4 separate regions of the Homo sapiens genome follow, and regions 2, 3 and 4 are each linked to region 1. The links are contacts of gene promoters, found by promoter capture Hi-C in blood cells and fetal thymus (Javierre and others, 2016). All regions are on one chromosome and are shown on one strand. The core of a region is centred on a gene start or on the middle of the fragment in contact, and the rest is flanking DNA. Distances in the headings are between cores, read along the strand shown. Region 1 holds the start of SAMD7 (sterile alpha motif domain containing 7). Region 2 overlaps PHC3 (polyhomeotic homolog 3). Region 3 overlaps PHC3 (polyhomeotic homolog 3). Region 4 overlaps GPR160 (G protein-coupled receptor 160).

Region 1 (2,950 bases), core at 332-2,831:
TCAGTAGAATTAAATGTTTCCACAGTTCTGAGATAAATAAATGTAAGATAAATAGATGTAAATTCTTAAATTAAAATGAGAGCAATTTTTACAATTCAGGCCTGGCTTCTTGCGAGTTTTCTTGGCCTTCTCTTAGGCAGTACCCCAACAACTCCAAAGTAATTCCTCCTACTTATGTTTTGCAGAGGCCTTTGTAGTCCATCTCCTCCAACTCTCTCTGAGCACAACCCAAATAGGCCTTCTCCTGGGTCCCTCCATATCTTGCTCCCCTTCCCATCTCTGCCAAGGACGGAGGAGAACTTTAGAAAGACAGTTCATACCGAAGCACTTGGCAGTGCTGCTAAAATGTATTTCACTTTTCCTAAAGGCATAAGCTTTAGGACTTTTCTAACTGCATTTCACCATAGCACATACCCTGGAAAGCATTGAAGACAGTGGGTTACGTGCTGGCTGCTGTCACTTCTTATTTCTTTTTACTCTGGAAGCTCATTTTCATTAGACCTATCCATGTCTTCTTGAAATGTCAGGTTCTAGGCACAATTACAAGTATTGTAAAGAAAAAGGTAAACCTTTGACATCATTAAAGAAGTCAAAATTATGTAATTTCTACTGGACTCAATATAATTTATGTGCAACTACAGTTTGTATAAATTATGTTCACTTTCTTCAAAAGATTGTGAAGCAAAGTCCATTATATATAAATCTGTAGAGACTAAAGTGAAATTCTAGCAGTACTCATATAATGGAACTGAATAGTAGGTGTTTTAGTTAGATAGTCTTAAAGAATGAATTAAGGAATATCAATATAGATTTTATTTCATGATTATCATTGATTGTTCCTCAATGTTTTTCTGAAATTTTCTACTCTGACATTTCATGGTTCATACATCATGACAATTTTTGGAATATAGATATCTATAGTAATGGGGGGCCATTAAAATAATAATATATAGTAAATAAACAGCAGTAATACATAGAGGTAGGTACTTCATCTGTTTGAAGATAATAAAACTACAGTAAATTTACATACAACTTTGAACTGACTTTATCTTAAATAAACTTCATTTTACTTTCACTTAAAAAACTCCAAAAACTAAGACCAGGCAGTGTTTATTTGGTAGGAGTGGTATATCATCTTTACTCGTTAGTAACTTCAGTCAAGTAGGAATTTATTAGCTCACATACTGTTAGTAATAGCCAGTAAAGTCTACACATAAACCTAAGCATTTCCTTTAAGATAAAGATGTCCTTTTATTTTATATGTGAAACATTTTACTCAGAGTAACTGGCCTCAATTTTGGGCTAATCAATGTGTAGAGTTACATACTTACATCCTCTATGAAGACTTCTTGTCTTTGATATTGCAGATGGAAGAACCATACAAAGACTTTCTGGCCTTCAACTGCAGAAGCTTCTCTGGCTGCGGGTTGAAAGGTACATCTGACAATTCTTTCAAAAATGGTCTTAATTCAGTTTAACCTTGCTTTAAATACAAATTCAACTAAGTTGATTAGTCCTATTTCATGACAGAAACTTTGCCCTCTGATATCCTCTACAGATAGGCTAAAAGATGTTAAGCCCAAGGAAAGTGCCCTGCAAGGTGCATAAACCTGTCTCAGAGCTTAGCCTTTAGTGTAATCCTTCCTTAGCCTTTAAGATGCTTTGTGGGCATTCACTTAATACCACTGTTCAACTTGACACAAAAGAAATATACTATGCAAATAAGTAATAAGCTTTTCTTTGATGGAACTATATAGCCTATTCCATATTTCCAACAGGTTTCAAGTGGAAACATTTCTTTTGCGAGTAGGAAAAAACCTAAGTTATTTTCCACAGAGCTGAAACATTTGATGAAAGATGGCAGTCTATTTTAAAAAGAAGCTTCTATAATGGACAACTGTACTTTAATTCTCACAGGCAGTGAGAAAACCCTTTATCATCTGTGTGAGAGCTGTGATCTATATAAGAGGGAAAACACGGAATTTTGAAAATGTGACCTGTTATATTTGCTAGAGAAACATTTATAGCTTGAAAAAGAACATCCATATTTTTTGATTCCTAGTAATTTACTAGTAGGAAGTACAAAATAAGAATTGAATATAAGAAATTTAAGTTGTGTTTCAAGTAATGCTTTAGGCTTCCAGTTTGAAGGTAACCTGCTCCTTTGTTGACACACATTTTTATCATTGGCTGTTGAACTCATTATAAGAAATAGCATGTGGAACTGACTGTATTTATTCCAGGGTTATTGTTCATAAAGCAGTGGTCAACAGCAGGGACTTAGATGACCAACAGACTCAATAAGCCTCAGCACCACCACTCATTAGCTGTATGGCCTGGCCAAGTTACTGAACTTCTCTGAGCCTTAGTTTCCTCATCTCAGAAGAGCCCTTCTTGGGAAAGGGAAGGCAACAAGGTAGACAAAATGCTTGAATAGTTCTCACTAAACATTAGCCATTATGTTAGGTAACTATATTGCACAGAGTCCTCTGTTGAGGATCCATGGGAGGAATTTTTCTCAGCTTGTAGTACTAGGGACAATTGTTTTGTTGTTGTTATTGTTGTTGTTGTTGTTCTGAAAAATAAGGCCAAAATAAAACCTCAGGAATCACGTAACTAGTGTGTTGCATTCTTTGTGTTGGTTAGTAGGAAGTTCAGGACCTGCCTTTAGGCATGCATTTTATTATATTTTTATTTATTTATTTTTGAGACAAGTTCTTGCTCTGCCACCCAGGCTAGAGTGCAGTGGCACAATCATGGCTCACTGTAGCCTCTATGTCCCCAGACTCAAGCAATCCTCCCACCGTAGCCTCCAAGTAGCTGGGACCACTGGTGCACGACCGCATGCCTGGCTAATTTTTTTTCTGTATTTTTTTGTAGAGACAGGCTTTCGCCATGTTGCCTAGGCTGGTCTTGAACTCCTGGACTCTAGCAATCCACCCACCTCGGC
Region 2 (2,950 bases), core at 331-2,830, 200 kb before region 1:
CAGTACATCTATGCACAGTAGCATTCCCAGTATAGAGAACAAACCTCCACAGGCTATTGTTAAACCACAGATCCTAACCCATGTTATTGAAGGCTTTGTGATTCAGGAGGGATTGGAGCCATTTCCTGTAAGTAGCAAGCATATTTGTGTGTGTGTTTGTAATTTATATAACATTATTTTAAAAGTTACATATTACTGTTCTCTAATAAAAAGCTTGTAATTTTATTTCAAGAAAGTTGTCCATTTTAATCTAGCATTTATCTTTCTACTTCCTTTATTTCCAAATGTTTATGTAGAATTTTATGCCAGCTAAGTTTAGATGCATAAACTAAGGGAAAAAATGAAAAAAATTTCAGGACATATTTTTATAATTTTTAGAGAAAGGTAGTTGGAAGTTTATTCAGTGAAATCAACTTTTATATTTTTTCTTTCTTTTTTTTTTTAGACAGGATCTTGCTCTGTTGACCAGGCTAGAGTGCAGTGGTGCGATCATGGCTCACTGTTACCTTGACCCCTGGGGCTCAGTTGATTCTTCTACCTCAGCCACCTGAGTAGCTGAGACTACAGGTGTGCGCCACCGTGCCCCACTAATTTTTGTATTTTTTTGTAGAGACAAGGTCTTGCCGTGTTTCTCAGGCTGGTTTTTAACTCCTGGGGTCCCAAAGTGCTGGGATTACAGGTGTGAGCCATGGCATGGCGCTCGGCTCATTTTTTCTTTTTAAGGGAACTGAAATGACAGCTGAAGTGTACTACTATTTTTATTTTTATTTATTTATTTGAGTTTTTGAGAGAGAGTCTCGCTCTGTCACCCAGGCTGGAGTGCAGTGGCACTGTTTCAGCTCACTGCAACCTCTGCCTCCCAGGTTTAGGTGATTCTCATGCCTTAGCTACCTCAGTAGCTGGGACTACAGGCATGCACCACCACGCCTGACCAATTTTTGTATTTTTAGTACCGAAGAGGGGGTTTCACCATCTTGACCAGGCTGGTCTCAAACTCCTGGCCTCAAGTGATCTACCGCCTCAGCCTCCCAAAGTGCTTGGATTACAAGTGTGACCCACTGCACCTGGCCATAAAGTGTATTATTTTAAATCATCTGAAGTTACATCTGAAGCTACCCAATTGATGGTTTGTAATTAGCAAATATATTTTCTCATTCCTAAATTTCAGCCTTCAATCATATTTTTCAAATGCTTTAAAATGTCCCGCTCAAAATGAAGGTCCTCTATCACTACAGGTCTTACAACTTGAAGCTAAGCTGTACATAATTTGTATGCTAATATCTAGAGATAAACATTTTTCCTTAGAAAATATATCAAAGACAAGCATATATAAAAATATGAAAAATTTTTTGAAGGCCTTTTGAGTCATCTGGATTTTCAGATTCATGGGTGAAAATCTTGCATTATGATAGATAGCTACCCAATCAGTTGTTTTTGTGTTCAATTTCGTGTGTGTGTGTGTGTGTGTGTGTGTGAGAAACTTGGATTTCCTATAACAATTCTCATACAGTGGATGGAGGAACAGTCTTTTTTCCCTGTCTGCTCCATACTGACTGGGTAACCTTTGTCAAGTCATTCAAACTTTCTGATCTTTATTTTGCTTATTTGTCAGGTGGAGACGGTGCTTTGCTCTTAGAGTTGTCGAGAGAACTAAATGTGCATAAATTATTCTGTATGGTACCTGGCACTTCATGGCCATAGCCATTATTATCTGTTATCACTAGTGAGAGCCATAACTTTTATTTTCACATTATAAAACTAATACATGTTCTAAATGGAAGATTTGGGAAATGTACAGGGCAAATGATCCCCATTAATACCACAATATGTTTATGTCTATATATACCACAGTACACATTAATACCACAGTATGTATATGTGTATACATATGTATTGTGGTATATATGTACATATGTATTGTATATATGTACATATACATACTGTGGTTTTAATGTATATGTGTTTGTGTATATAATGTATATATGTTATAGATACATACATATAATCAAGATTATGGTACATACAGTTCTCCTTTCACTGAGGAAATTTGAGTATTTTCTCATTATTAATAGTATTGGAAACATTTTGAAAGGTTACATAATATTTCACTTTATGAACATCCATAATTTATGTAATCTTTCCATTATTGTTGGACATTAGGTTTCCATTTTTTCACTGTTCAAATAGTTCTGAAAGGAATATCTATATATATAAATCATACACATTTTAAATAAGTTTCTTAGTATGAATTCCTAGAAATAGAGTTATTATGTCATATTACATAGATATTCATAAGACTCTTGATACGTATTGCTGAATTATTTTTTGGAAAATGATTTAAATTTATTCATCTGTGAGAAGTGTATGCCCTTAGCATTGAATGTGAGTTTTTCTTTAAGCAATAACTTCTGTAAATTTTAATTTCACTTGAGGCATATTAAATATCTAACTCAAATGAACAAAATGTTTAAAAAGTTTGTGAGTAATTATACTCTAAAGTTAAATGTAGAAGTTTCTGTCCAATAAGCTGTTGTTCCCCATATGTGGCAGATATTGGAGACTTAACCAGCATTCTTGAGGAATAAGATGTTCTAGTCATTCTGTTTTTTAAATTAGCTGAGGGCTCACCAGTGAATCAATGAATATATTTGATCTGAGTTGTTTTTGTTGAAAATACTTCTAAAATAGGTAGTATTCCTGAGTTAACCAAGTATACTGAATATAAGTGAATATTTTGATGTTAATTTGTTAATATTTGAGGATTTTCCATTTCTTTTGTGATTATAGTGGATTAGTTTGCTAAACTAGGATTCAGGAGACTTGAGTTCTAGTCCTCATTCTGTTTTTGTAAACAAATCACCTAAACATTTTGAATTTTAGTTTTCTTATCCAGAAAATACATCCAATAATTTTGTCTTGATCATTAACCCTACAAATAAAAAGCTTTGTG
Region 3 (2,950 bases), core at 269-2,768, 190 kb before region 1:
AGGCTAATTTTCCCCAGCATCCTTTGCCATGTGGCTACTTTACCAGAACAAAGGCAAATTCCTTTGCCTCATTCTTGCATCATTTGAGTTAAAAAAACATAAAACTTAATATTCCTCATAACTTAAAATGCTTGTCTTATAGAGTTCATCTAGACACTTAATTTTGTTGCCAGGTATTTAGAAAACATTATATATCATAAAAAGGACACAGCTATTATATAATTTAGAATTGCTTACTACTATTTTAGAGTCTGGTTAATATGACTCTCTTCTTTACTTATGAAATGGGAGTGTTTCCAAACTGCTTTGACAGGCCAAATAATAAGCTTATTTGTGTGATTAGTTGTATCACCTTTCTCACAGTTTTCTCTGCATAATGCCTATAGTTTAAGGTAATCTCATACCAGAAAATGCCTTAGTGTTCATTTCTTTCTGCTTCTCTGGACTTTGTAAATTTCGTTTTGAGCTTCTTTTAGCTCTCATTAAGCGCTGTTTGTTTTCCCTGAGTAGTCTACTCCCAAGCTTTTCTCATAGGATGAACAAGCTTGTAAATTTTGTAATCTCTTTTGTATTTTGTTTCTTTCCAGTTGAGATAGGCTTCCTTCCCTCTTTAACCAGGGCATTTATATTTACTCCTCCAGTTTTCTCTTCTCTTTGTATATCGTCTTGTTAACCATCCTGTTCAGACTATGTTAGAGCTTGTATGCAGTAGACCAGAATCTCAGAGCTGTTAACAGAATGAAAAATTACCGCCTTCTAATTTTCTCTGCATTAAAAAGTTATCTACAGGAATAATTCTTATTTTCAATTTACTGCGGGTTATCTTCTTTAACCTTTCCTTGCTATGGTGAACTGCCTTTTGCAGAGATCAGTTTGTCCTCTGTTTATTGAAGGGTGAATCCACAGTAGATTTGATTTTTCTGTAGGCATATAAACTAGGAATCATTTTTTAAAACATGACTATTTACTGGTTTTTGTAATATCAGTATTGGGACTTGTTTATTCTGTAGTATTGAGTGGCAGGTGATACCTTTTCACCAACCTTACTGTGGTCAATTTTTGTGCAGGGTGTTTTATTTTGAGTTTAGCTGGAGAAGTGATGCCAGACACTTGAAAGATCAGTTGGGACCCATGTGCAGAGGTCCTTGCCTGTGCTGAGAGCTGCACTACACTTGCTTCTGGTGAGGTGAAGCTAGCTCAGCTGACTGGCTGTGTCAGTTGGTGTATGTTTTGTACACATCCCCGGGATCCAGGCATTTTACCAAAGTAGATGTTAATGTCAGAAACTCAGAACTTTATCTCAGTATACCTTGAGCACTTAAAATTGTTTTTAAAATATATTTTTCTGTAATGAGATTCTGGAAGCATACTTGCTTCCAATTTTTCTAAGTCACTTTTTTTTAAATTTCTATACTGATGTAACTATACTTTTTTTGTGGTTAGCTTAAGAAAGTTGTGATCTAAAATGCATTCCTATTTGATCGTGCTAATTCCCAAAACACTTTTTGTTCTATATTATTTTGCTAATACATTTACTGTTCACCTACAAGAGGATATTTGAAGAGGAATCTCACAATACAGAGGAACAGGAATGTGCTACATATTTTCCTCATGGAGAACTCCTTGTTTCTATTCCCAAATGTAGCTCTTATAGTTCTCATTACTTCTCATTGCTCTTGTTTTCTGAATCTAAGTAAGTCCCACCCTATCTTTCTCTCTCTTCTTTTCTTTCCTGTGTTCTTGTAAGTAAGACTGAAGAGAGAAGAACATTAGTTCTTTCATAAAAAGAAGGATGAAGTCACAACTAGATGCAAGATTAGTCAGTTTTGTCTGCCCAGTTTTGTTGAGAGCTACCTCTGGGAAAAGAAAAGGGGCTTTTCTATGGTGAGTAATCCCATTTCAACTATAGTTTCTTTTATAAGATAAATGTGCAAAAGCATAATAATTTCGTAGAGGGTATTGAAATGTCAATTTTTCAAAGTCTGAGAAATTATTAAAATAGAAATTGAAAAGCTAGTTGTTATATAGGAAACAGTAAAGATACAAGTAACAGAGGACGTGAGAAAAGAAATAAGCAAGAGAAAAAATGGACACACAGCTGTACACAGGAAAAAATGTTTGTATTACTCTTACAGATAGCTCTTCTATAGCAGATTATATTTTTGTTTATTGTGTATTCACTAATTCAGTCCTTATTGACAAATATTATGTATTCAGTACCTATAATGCTTTGTGCTTTGTGCTGGGGTTGTAAGACATCATAATCTTACATAAACAAGAGGATGATACATTTGCAAGTAGAAAGGATAATTGAACTAGCAAAATTGTGGCATCCAAAAGTGTAATGTAACTATTTTCATTTTTCATTATCTTTTTCTTTGTGTTTTCCCTTAGAATGCTGATTTGAATAAAATAGAAAAACTTAAGCTGTCAGTTTTTATGTGTATTCTTAAATTCATCTTAAAATTTTACTGTCTCTCAAGAAAGCTTCCATATTTTTATATTCTCTCATCTCAGCTACTTAATTGATTACCTTTCCTATTGGTTTCTTTACCCTTAATGGGTAAGTTTATTGAGTAATTTGGATGTGAAAATTTGGTAGACAGTAAAAACATTTGAGTTTCAGGTAGATACTAGCATTGTTACCTGCTAAAGCACCTGGTTTAGACTGAGAGCTAAAATATTGGTTATATGGCAGGAAATTCGCCAGCAAGCTCATAATTTCAATGAGAATTGTTTTCTTAACAAAAGTGGAGACAAGCCCAGTGATAGTCAAGTCAAGCAGCGTAATACATTTCAGCAGCATTGCAATAGATTGGTAATACAGTCTTGAGAAATTTGATATGTCCCGAGTGAACAATAAAAATATTTTAAATGTACTTTTCAAGTGAAGGTCATAAATTAGGATAAGGTACAAATGATAATGAAAGTGGTACTTACTTGAGAAAAT
Region 4 (2,950 bases), core at 254-2,753, 150 kb before region 1:
GAGGCTGAGGCAGGAGAATGGCGTGAACCCGGGAGGCAGAGCTTGCAGGGAGCCGAGATCGTGCCACTGGACTCCAGCCTGGGTGACAGAGCGAGGCTCTGTCACAAAAAAAAAAAAAAAAAAAAAAAAAAAAGAAAAAGAAAAAGAATAGTGTCAAGTAATCTTCTATATATACATGAAGAAACCCTGGAAGGACACTTAAAAAGTGAGCACTGGGCATGTGTGCATGCCTATATCCCAGCTACTCAGGAGGCTGAGGCAGGAGGATTGCTTGAACCCAGTAGTTTGAGTATAGTCTGGGCAACATAGCGAGACCCCATCTCTTAAAAAAAAAAGTTAAAGACAGTGGTTACAGGGGTAGGAACTTGGCAGATGGGGTCATGAATGAGATGAAGACTTCAGTACATTTTTTTTCCTACTATGAACATTCTGCTAAACATGTGACTGTATTAAGTATTCAAAAAATTAAACACATTGAGTAAGGAAAAAAACAAGTTATCTACAAATTGGTACAATTCTCAATTACACAAATAATTTAAGTATTTAGTTTACTTTAAAAAGCTTTTTAATATTTCATGAAAGAAACTTTCCAACATAGAATTCTACACCAAACTAAATGGTCAATTAAGTGTAGGTATAAAATGAAGCCACATACTCAAAAATGTTTTACTCACATGAAGTTCTTAGGAAGCCAATGAAAGAAAGGCATACGTCATCAGAATGAGGAATAATAAACTAGGAGAGCAATACATGCGGTCCAGGAAATGGGATGCATTAGAAGAGAAGAAAAACCATGTAGAGTACAATTCGAGGATTCCGAGGTTGGTGAAGATTATCTAGGCATCAGATCCAGAGTGCACAATCTAAATTAGAGTAGGGCACATGGCTATGGGAGAAATTCCTCCAGGAAGGTGGAAATTCCAAATATCTTTGAACATACCAAAAGATTTACACAAAAGAGAAGAGTCTGTGGTTGAATTAGCGATAAGTATATAGAAAAAAAAGCAGACAGATAACTGAAAGGAAAACAAAAAAGTTTAGAAAGGAAATGTAATTGTAATGTACGATACTCATTAGCTATTTTATTTTAAAATAAAACTTTATTTTTTAAAATAATTTTTGTTTCAACTTTATGATGACAAATAATTTTCAAGTTTATTTCCTCATTTGTTTAAATACAAAGCTAAACCACAAACAGGTACAACAAAGATACTATCTCACATCTACACTCCCGTCAGATCCTCTTCGGCTGACCACTCACCAGGCTGACTGGGGGAAGAGACTTTCTTAGGTAGCACCGTTGTGAGGCCCAGGGTGGGGTGGGGGAATCAAAGGCGAGGACAGGCTCTCATACCTGCTTCCATTCAGATTTACCTGGGACCAGGGTGGGCAGGAGACACCAGGTCATGACTCCCGAGTCTCACTCAGTAAGAATGGGTCCTGCATAGCTGGGTGCGGTGGTTCACGCCTGTAATCCCAGCACTTTGGAAGGCCGAGGCGGGCGGATGACGAGATCAGGAGTTTGAGACCAGCCTGGCCAACATGGTGAAACCCCGTCTCTACTAAAAATACAAAAAATTAGCCAGGCGCGGTGGCATGTGCCTGTAGTCCCAGCTACTCAGGAGGCTGAGGCAGAAGAATCGCTTTAACGCGGGAGGTGGAGATTGCAGCGAGCCGAGATTGTGCCACTGTACTCCAGCCTGGGCGACAGAGTGAGACTCTGCCTCAAAAAAAAAAAAAAAAAAAAAAGAAAAGAAAAGAAAAGAATGGGTCCCGTGTAGGGAGGGTCGAGGCCGCCACCTACTCCTCCAGCCTTGACAGTCTAGGTGAAAACCTTGGCCTATCTTAGATTCCCGGGGGTCTCGGCCCTGCCCGCACACCTGGGCGCCTTTCTCTGAGGCTGGCAGCCGCAGTTCGGGTTGGGGGATCTGGGCTTGTGTACTCACCCCCGCCAGCTCATGGCTGCGACCTCGCAGGAGCCGTGGGTGTCTGACAAACACGAGGCCTAGACGGCAGCTCTGGAACTTTCAACCCAGCAGGACGCGGGGAAAACTGGCAGGGGTATTAAGTACGTAATTTCTGGTCCCACTACAAATCTCTAATTTTGATTAGAATAGAGTATCATCTCAATCTCTTCTACAAAAACAAAAGCAATGCCCCCCCCAAAAAAATACAGCCGCTTCACTCACTTCAAGACCTATGTACATGTAAGTTGTTTCCTGTGTTTTATTATTATTTTTTAATAAATTCAGCGTTCACATTTCTACAAAGAATTAGCCCAGTTTCAGGAAATTCTGCCCGGCAGGGAAGGCAAGCCACACTCTCCTCACCCACGTCTGGTTTGACTTCACACCCCGATGCTTCCAGGTGCTCAGAAAAGCCGCAGCGGGTGGAAGAGGAAATCTATGCCGGCCCGCGCTCAGGGCCACGAGCTCAGTAAGCTTTCGAGAAAGCACGGGGAAGACAAGCTTACTGCCCAATCTTTTAAAAATATATTCATACACTTCAAAGAGCGCCTGTCCAGATGTTAGGAGAACAAGAGCTTGGAGCCATCCCGTCCAGGCCTTTGGGAGACAGCGTCTTCCTCATACCTCGTCGCGGTGTGGGGGACACGTCCCAGCTCTTCCACCGGAGAGAGGAGACTCGCGCGGCTTCCTAGTTCACGTTTGGCTCTAATCCTGTGCTGAGGTTTTTTTTTTTTTTTTTTTTTTGCTTTTTTTGTTTGTTTTTGAGACATGGTCTCACTCTGTCACCCAGGCTGGAGTGCAATGGCGGGATCTCGGCTCACCGCAACCTCCACCTCCTGGGTTCAAGCGATTCTCCTGCCTCAGCCTCCCCAGTGGCTGGGATTACAGGCATGCACCACCACGCCCGGCTAATTTTTGTATTTTTAGTAGAGACGGGGTTTCACCATGTTTGCCAGGCTGGTCTCAATCTCCTGACCTCAAGT

What was found. The method cuts DNA at HindIII sites, captures the fragments that hold promoters and counts their contacts. A CHiCAGO score of 5 or more calls a contact.
Region 2: a fragment that was not itself captured here is called in contact with the fragment with the promoter of SAMD7 in region 1 in 1 of 17 cell types (total B cells); the score reaches 5.0 in total B cells.
Region 3: a fragment that was not itself captured here is called in contact with the fragment with the promoter of SAMD7 in region 1 in 2 of 17 cell types (total B cells and naive B cells); the score reaches 5.6 in total B cells.
Region 4: a contact is called between a fragment that was not itself captured here and the fragment with the promoter of SAMD7 in region 1, in 1 of 17 cell types (total B cells). The highest score is 5.1, in total B cells.

Annotation. Positions count from the first base shown.
Region 1 is chr3:169,910,203-169,913,152 of GRCh38, reverse strand. It overlaps SAMD7 (sterile alpha motif domain containing 7), which reads right to left and starts at 1,581. Exons shown (of 9, transcript NM_001304366.2): 1 at 1,332-1,581. The HindIII fragment of the contact is 322 bases long and covers 1,414-1,735 here.
Region 2 is chr3:170,114,403-170,117,352 of GRCh38, reverse strand. It overlaps PHC3 (polyhomeotic homolog 3), which reads left to right. Exons shown (of 15, transcript NM_024947.4): 10 at 1-127. All of the region lies in intron 2 of LOC105374209 (a long non-coding RNA gene), which reads right to left. Among named protein-coding and RNA genes, the nearest start is that of PHC3, 66 kb to the left of the region's middle. The HindIII fragment of the contact is 2,730 bases long and covers 216-2,945 here.
Region 3 is chr3:170,097,831-170,100,780 of GRCh38, reverse strand. The region is part of intron 14 of PHC3 (polyhomeotic homolog 3); the gene reads left to right. Among named protein-coding and RNA genes, the nearest start is that of GPR160, 61 kb to the right of the region's middle. The HindIII fragment of the contact is 1,943 bases long and covers 547-2,489 here.
Region 4 is chr3:170,063,314-170,066,263 of GRCh38, reverse strand. The region is part of intron 2 of GPR160 (G protein-coupled receptor 160); the gene reads right to left. Among named protein-coding and RNA genes, the nearest start is that of GPR160, 27 kb to the right of the region's middle. The HindIII fragment of the contact is 1,880 bases long and covers 564-2,443 here.